2 separate regions of the Homo sapiens genome follow, and region 1 is linked to region 2. The links are contacts of gene promoters, found by promoter capture Hi-C in human tissues and cell types (Jung and others, 2019). All regions are on one chromosome and are shown on one strand. Each heading gives the region's core, a stretch centred on a gene start or on the middle of the fragment in contact. The rest is flanking DNA. Distances are from core to core; before and after follow the strand shown. Region 1 overlaps RASSF8 (Ras association domain family member 8). Region 2 holds the start of BHLHE41 (basic helix-loop-helix family member e41).

The links. Contacts are between HindIII fragments. The study calls those that stand out against the background at their distance.
Region 1: a fragment that was not itself captured here is called in contact with the fragment with the promoter of BHLHE41 in region 2 in 1 of the 25 tissues and cell types used here (hippocampus).

The regions. Positions count from the first base shown.
Region 1 is chr12:25,963,235-25,966,781 of GRCh38, reverse strand. The region is part of intron 1 of RASSF8 (Ras association domain family member 8); the gene reads right to left. Among named protein-coding and RNA genes, the nearest start is that of RASSF8-AS1, 5.6 kb to the right of the region's middle. The HindIII fragment of the contact is 5,796 bases long and covers 1-3,547 here.
Region 2 is chr12:26,123,338-26,126,446 of GRCh38, reverse strand. BHLHE41 (basic helix-loop-helix family member e41) reads left to right here and starts at 1,410. Exons shown (of 5, transcript NM_030762.3): 1 at 1,410-1,729; 2 at 1,865-1,928; 3 at 2,268-2,375; 4 at 2,706-2,817. The coding sequence starts at 1,668. It also overlaps a transcript of SSPN not described here. The HindIII fragment of the contact is 3,249 bases long and covers 925-3,109 here.

The sequences.
Region 1 (3,547 bases), core at 978-3,477, 160 kb after region 2:
AATTAAAACCTTCTGCTTTTCAAAAGTCACTGTTAAGAAAACGATGAGACACAAACTGGGAGAAATTCTTTGCAAAGCATATATTTGATGAAACACTTGTATTCAAAATATATAAGAATTCTCAAAATTTAATAATAAGAAAACAACCCAATAAAAACATCAGCAAAAGACTAGGACACTTCACCAAAGAAGATACAAAGATAGCATAAAAAACACATGAAAAGATTCTTTACATCACTAGTTGTTAGGGAAATGCAAATTAAAACCACAATGATGGCTGGACACATGGCTCATGCCTGTGATCTCAACACCGGGAGGCCAAGGTGGGAGGACTGCTTGAGGCCAGGAGTTCAAGACCAGCCTGGGCAACATAGCAAGACCTCATCTCTACAAAATAAAATATTTTAAAAAACAGCCGGGCATGGTGGCACATGTGTGTGGTCCTAGCTACTTGGGAACTATGACTGTACTACTGTACTCCAGCCTCGGCAACAGAGCAAGACCCTGTCTTTAAAATTAAAAAAATAAAAATTTTAAAAACCCACAATAAAATACCACAAATGTCTAAAAAAGACCAACTATGCCAAGTGTTGACAAGGATGCAAAGGAAACAGCATGTTTACCTGCTGGTGGTTAAGAATGTAAAATGGTACAATCACTTGGGAAAACAGTTTGGCAGTTTCTTAAAAAGCTAAGCATACACCTACCATAAGATCCAGCCATTCCACTCCTGGGTACTTACCCAAGATAAATGAAAGTATATGTCTATACAATACTTGTATGCAAGTATTCATAACAGCTTTATTTGTAATAGCCAAAAATTAGCAACAAATCTAATGTTCATCAATAGGTAGATAAATGAATTGCTGTGTACTCACACAATGAAATACTACTCAGCAATGAAGAGGAATAAACTACTACTACATAAATCAACATGAATGAATCTCCAAACCATTATTCTGAGTTTAAGAAGCCTCAACAACAAAAAAAAGTATATTACTGCATAATTCCATTAATCTAAAATTCCAGAAAATTTGAACTACTCTATAGTGACAGCAGACCAGTGGTTTAGAGGAAACGGGAGAATGAAAGGAAGATAAATTACAAAGGAGAATGAGAAAATTTGGGGTGGGCATGGTGGCTCTCGCCTGTAATCCCAGTACTTTGGGAGGCTAAGGTGGGCGGATCATTTGAGGTGGAGAGATAAGCCTGGCCAACATGGCAAAACCCAGTCTCTACTAAAAATACATAACTTAGCCAGCCATGGTGGCACAAGCCTGTAGTCCCAGCTACTCGGGAAGCTGAGGCAGAATTGACTGAACCTAGGAGGCAGTGGTTGAGTGAGCCAAGATCATGCCACTGTACTCCAGCCTGGGCAACAGAGCAAGACCCTGTCTCAAAAAAAAAAAAAAAAAAAAGAAATTTGGGAAAGTGATGTGGGAATGATTTCATGTGTATACATAGATCAAATCTTGTAAAATTGTACAGTTAGGTATGTGCAGTTTATTGTGTGTCAATGATATCTCAATAAAGCTGTTTAAGGCTGGGCACGGTGGCTCATGCCTGTAATCCCAGCACTTTGGGAGGCCGAGGCAGGCGGATCACGAGGTCAGGAAATCAAGACCATCCTGGCTAACATGGTAAATCCTGTCTCTAATAAAAATGTAAAAAATTAGCTGGGCGTGGTGGCGGGGACCTGTAGTCCCAGCTACTCAGGAGGCTGAGGCGGGAGAATGGCATGAACCCGGGAGGCGGAGCTTGCAGTGAGCCAAGATCGTGCCACTGCACTCCAGCCTGGACGACAGAGCAAGACTCCGTCTCAAAAAATATATAAATTAATTAATTAAATAAAGCTGTTTAAAAAAAGAAATATAAGGGAAGTCATTATACACTAAAAAGAAAAAATACAGCACAAATAAACTACTATAAGATATTCTGACATTTAACGTATTAGAACTTCCCATAGAAATGAACAAATTTTACCTTCAACATTACAAAACATCCCTATTTCTCACTGGTATTTTTACAGTAGAGTTTCATCGATTATAAATCCACTCAAATATTTTAAGCAAAAATAAGGGTAAAACCTTACTTTCTGCCCAATATCTATCCATTAAAGAGAATCCCAATTTCTTTTAAACATATATACTTGTATCTGGAAGAATAATTTAGTCTTAAGCGATTTTCCAATAGTAAAATTACTATAAGGATAAACATGATTTAGCACTCACGAGCCAATGATAGCTAACAACAGTGACCAAATATAACAACAGTGACAAAATATATTACCTACATAAAACCTGGTAGCAAACCATCACAGCTCTCCTCTTGTTATAACCTGCATTTACATCTGATTTCTTTTTAAAACAAAGAGTAAAACATATGCTAATGAGTAAGAAAATATTTTGCTGCATACATAAAATTTGGACAGCCCTACAGTTCACTGCAATATTTTGTGATATATCTGAATGTGATTTAAAAAAAAAAAAAAACACTTGCTAAGAATAGCTTTCTAAATCCTATAGCAAGTCTGTGAAATAAATGGGTAATAAATATTATTGGTGTTAAAAAGCTCAAGGCAACTTGTTCAAGGTCACCCAAGTAACCAGTGGACATATATACATGGTGGAAAAAAAATAACAAGGGTTCCCAACCATAACTTTCCTCTCCTCCACAGTGGCAGCTACTCGTGATGCGAATGTCCTGCAGGCACAGAGGGCCTACACGAGGCAAATCACCTGGTGTGCCCCTCTCAGGGCTTGCTCTCAACATTTTTAAAATCAGGTCTAAATAAGCACCAGGGTAAGGGTCTGGCTTGCAGGGGCATCTCTCTCTTCTCATGCCTTCCTGACTAGAAAATCAGGAGTGGGGAAATGTAGGAACAAAAGGAACAATTTTCTTTTGTGAAGCAAATATATGGAAAGAAAGCCTAAGCTTCACTTTTCCAATTCTGACCAGATAAACTACTCACTCCTCCTCTTCGAGAGCACCCAACAGGGGCTCAAAAATGCTGCTTTCATCCTCCTTGCTCTCCCAACCCAAGAGCACCCAGGCTACGGAAACCTCAGGGTCCAGACCACTCAAAGGATCACAGTTTGGGAACCCCCGAGGTGGACTGCAGAGGAGTACGTTCTGAAGGACTTGAATCAGCTCCAAAGTGCCCCCACACACTCAGTGATCTATAAGATACAAAACTAGAAAGAACTAGAACTACACTCTAAGGGTGTGAGGAAATGATTTTTAAGGAATACTAAAGTCCTAAAAAACAAGTCAAGAGAAAAATGCAGAATTATGTAAGAAGTAGAGATTACAAACATCAATAACAGACATAAGTACTTCAGAGTTAGAGGACATCAAGCTAATATTTCGTAAAGAGCAACCACATGACAAAAATACTCAAAGCTGTAAGCCTTCCTTGGCCTTGGAAGGTCATGAGACTTTTTTTTTTTTTTTTTTTTTTGGCTAAAACAAGGAATGCTTTAGTGAGAGAGAAGAAAAGAACTTCCAGACTTCTAGGTGGCTCCCACTTTTTTTAAAAAAAACTCCT
Region 2 (3,109 bases), core at 161-2,660:
CTTATCACCGGCAATAATCAACGTTTCAGAGATCACCCCGGGGAGAATGTAAATATCCCTCTCTGTGCAGGAAAAACCTTGGTTTTTTTCTCTATGTCTTTATGTATATCTAGAGAAATATATATATAGCCTCCATCCCACCCCTGGGAGTCCCTCAGGACATGCCTTCCCCTGGGCTGGCAGGGCGGCGTGGGCAGTGCGCATCCCCGGGCACCTCCCGGTAACTCTCACTAGCAGTGAGTCATGCTCCCAGGGTGGCTCTGGGGAAAGGTAACCCGGCTCTTGCTGGCCTGTGATTCCCGGCGCCGAGCGCCGCGGCTGCAGGGCGAGCGCGCGCGCGCACGGGTTCCCCGAGCAGTGATGTGGCAGCAGCGGCAGGTCGGATCACGTTGCTGGCCCTGTGCTGGTACCCGTTTGAGACCGGATTAAGGAGGGAGGCTTTGGAGGTGCCAGCGGTAGTAAACGTGGGCTCTGCACACTCCGGGCGTCTCTTATCGCGCGGGGGGGCGGGGGGATGGGGAAAGCACGTAGCGTCACCGGAGGCTCAGAACGCGGCAGAGTTGAGCGGGCGGGTGATAAATGCTGCATAGCTTTTCTGTGGTAGCCCCTCTCGTGCCACCCCCTCTCGTGCCACCCCCTTCTCCCTTCCCAGCCCCCACTCAACCCCGGCTCGCTCCCCGCCGCGTTCCTCCAGGAGCACACGCGGCCCCAAACGTCGTCATCTGCTGCTGTGATTAGTGGCACCGCAATTCCGGCTGCTGCGGGGAAGTTTAGTTGGCCCAGGGACGCCGTGTCACCGAAAGACACTTGGATTGCGACATTCGGACCCAGTGACAACGTTTTCATGTATCTTAAATCCTTCAAGGAGCGGATTGCAAGTTGCTTCTTCTCGAGGCAACCTCTCCACCCAGCGCCAAGGAGTCCCTCCAGGCCACTGATCAGTGAGCAAACAAGTCTCCAAAATTTCCTTTGGGACTCAAGTTTACCCACCGCGAATTCTCTTTTCACTTCCTTTCTATGGTTCAAACCAACAGCACAATCGGTGGAAAAGCAAAAAGCCACGTTCACATTCCTGCACCGTAACAACGGACGAACCCAGGGAGTCGCATTTTGGAGCCAAGGAAGCTCAGGCTGCCCCGCACCCCTGCACCCCCACTCCCCCCTCCTCCTGCCGACTGCATCGCCTTTGGGAAGATGAATAGCTTGGCCGAAGTTGTTTTTCCTTTCCGGTGGCCCTGATCAGGTGTCCCCGCCCCCTCCTGCCGTTCGCCTTCTCTCGCCGCCTTCTCCCGACGCCCCCGCCCGGCCCGGCCCCTCCTCCCCCGCCCCCCTCCGGGCTGGACCGCGGATGGTACGTTCCGCACGTGAGCTGGGTGCTGGTCTGGCCGGCGACGCGCGTGCCCTGTGGCCAAACACTGCCTGGAGTGAGAGCAAACTACCAGCGCAGTGGGGCCGGCGCGAGTGTGCGTGTGTGTGCGTGTGTGTGTGCGAGCGCGGTGGAGGGGGGGGACCAACTGCTTCACACTTTCAACACTGCACTGAAGAGGGAGAGCGAGAGAGAGACTGGAGACGCACAGATCCCCCCAAGGTCTCCCAAGCCTACCGTCCCACAGATTATTGTACAGAGCCCCAAAAATCGAAACAGAGGAAACGAACAGCAGTTGAACATGGACGAAGGAATTCCTCATTTGCAAGAGAGACAGTTACTGGAACATAGAGATTTTATAGGGTAAGGTGCACGCACCCTTGCGAATATCTGTCTAGGCTTTGGTTTGATTTTTTTCTTCTCCAGAAAGTGGTATGGAGCTGGCGAGGGCAGAGCCCCTCCCCGAATGGGTGCCTGATGCTGATTTCTGTTTTGCAGACTGGACTATTCCTCTTTGTATATGTGTAAACCCAAAAGGAGCATGAAACGAGACGACACCAAGGTAAGTGTAAGTTCCCGATATTCCTCATAACCTGCATGGGTAGTTAATTAGAGCCATTGATTTCACAGTGAAGCTCTGCCCGCAAATATATTCCAGCCCCTGAGCTTCCCCAACTGTGAATTTTAAGTGGCTTGCTGGGTACTCTCAGGGGGATATTAAACATCATACCTGAATTTAAATTGCATTGCAGAACAGTCCAGAGGAAAGAGGTTTCTTGGGTGTAGTTTATCACATAGTATGTTTTATGGTGGGGGGGCGGGGGGGGCAGACGAGGGTAATATCCAATAAGTGAATGTTTCGCTTACTGTTTTCTCTTTTCCATGACTCTCATATATTAAGGATACCTACAAATTACCGCACAGATTAATAGAAAAGAAAAGAAGAGACCGAATTAATGAATGCATTGCTCAGCTGAAAGATTTACTGCCTGAACATCTGAAATTGACAGTAAGATGCACATTTTCATTCTTTGCTGCTCTCCAAGGGCGTGTTAATAGTCTGGTGCGACTCCCAGAAAATATAAGAATAAATGTAAATATAAGTTCCTGACTTAAAACTTGTGCTATACCGTACAGAGTTTCCCGCAAACTGGAGTAGGTGCTCCCAGCTGAAGGCAAGAAATCATTTATAACCTGTCTTGTGGAAAGCTCAAGAAGTAAAAGAACAGTACTTCTTTCAAAGTGTTTGCTTAAATTGCTGTGCTGAATGGACAGCCAATTAAGCCAAATGTGTGTTTTTAAGTAACCAAGTGCCCGTTTCTTTTTTGCACCACTGCAGACTCTGGGACATCTGGAGAAAGCTGTAGTCTTGGAATTAACTTTGAAACACTTAAAAGCTTTAACCGCCTTAACCGAGCAACAGCATCAGAAGATAATTGCTTTACAGAATGGTAAGTCAGTTCAGGGAGGCCAGCCTACCCTGATGAAGCGGGGCAGCCCACAGGGGAGCAGTGTCAGGACTCCCTCACCCGCACCCCATCTCTTTCCGTGGGCTCATGGGTTCCCTCTCATTTGTTAAATTGCTTATACTTTCCCTTCATTGGAACGAGCCCATTTCCCGAAGCATCCTAGAGGCTTTCAGCAGAACTCGGAGGAATCAGGATTTAAAGTGGCGGTTGCACCCGCTCCACTTTGGTTTTCAGCTGGGAGGAGAGCGCCCTCTCCCCGCTCCGCACCTCCGCC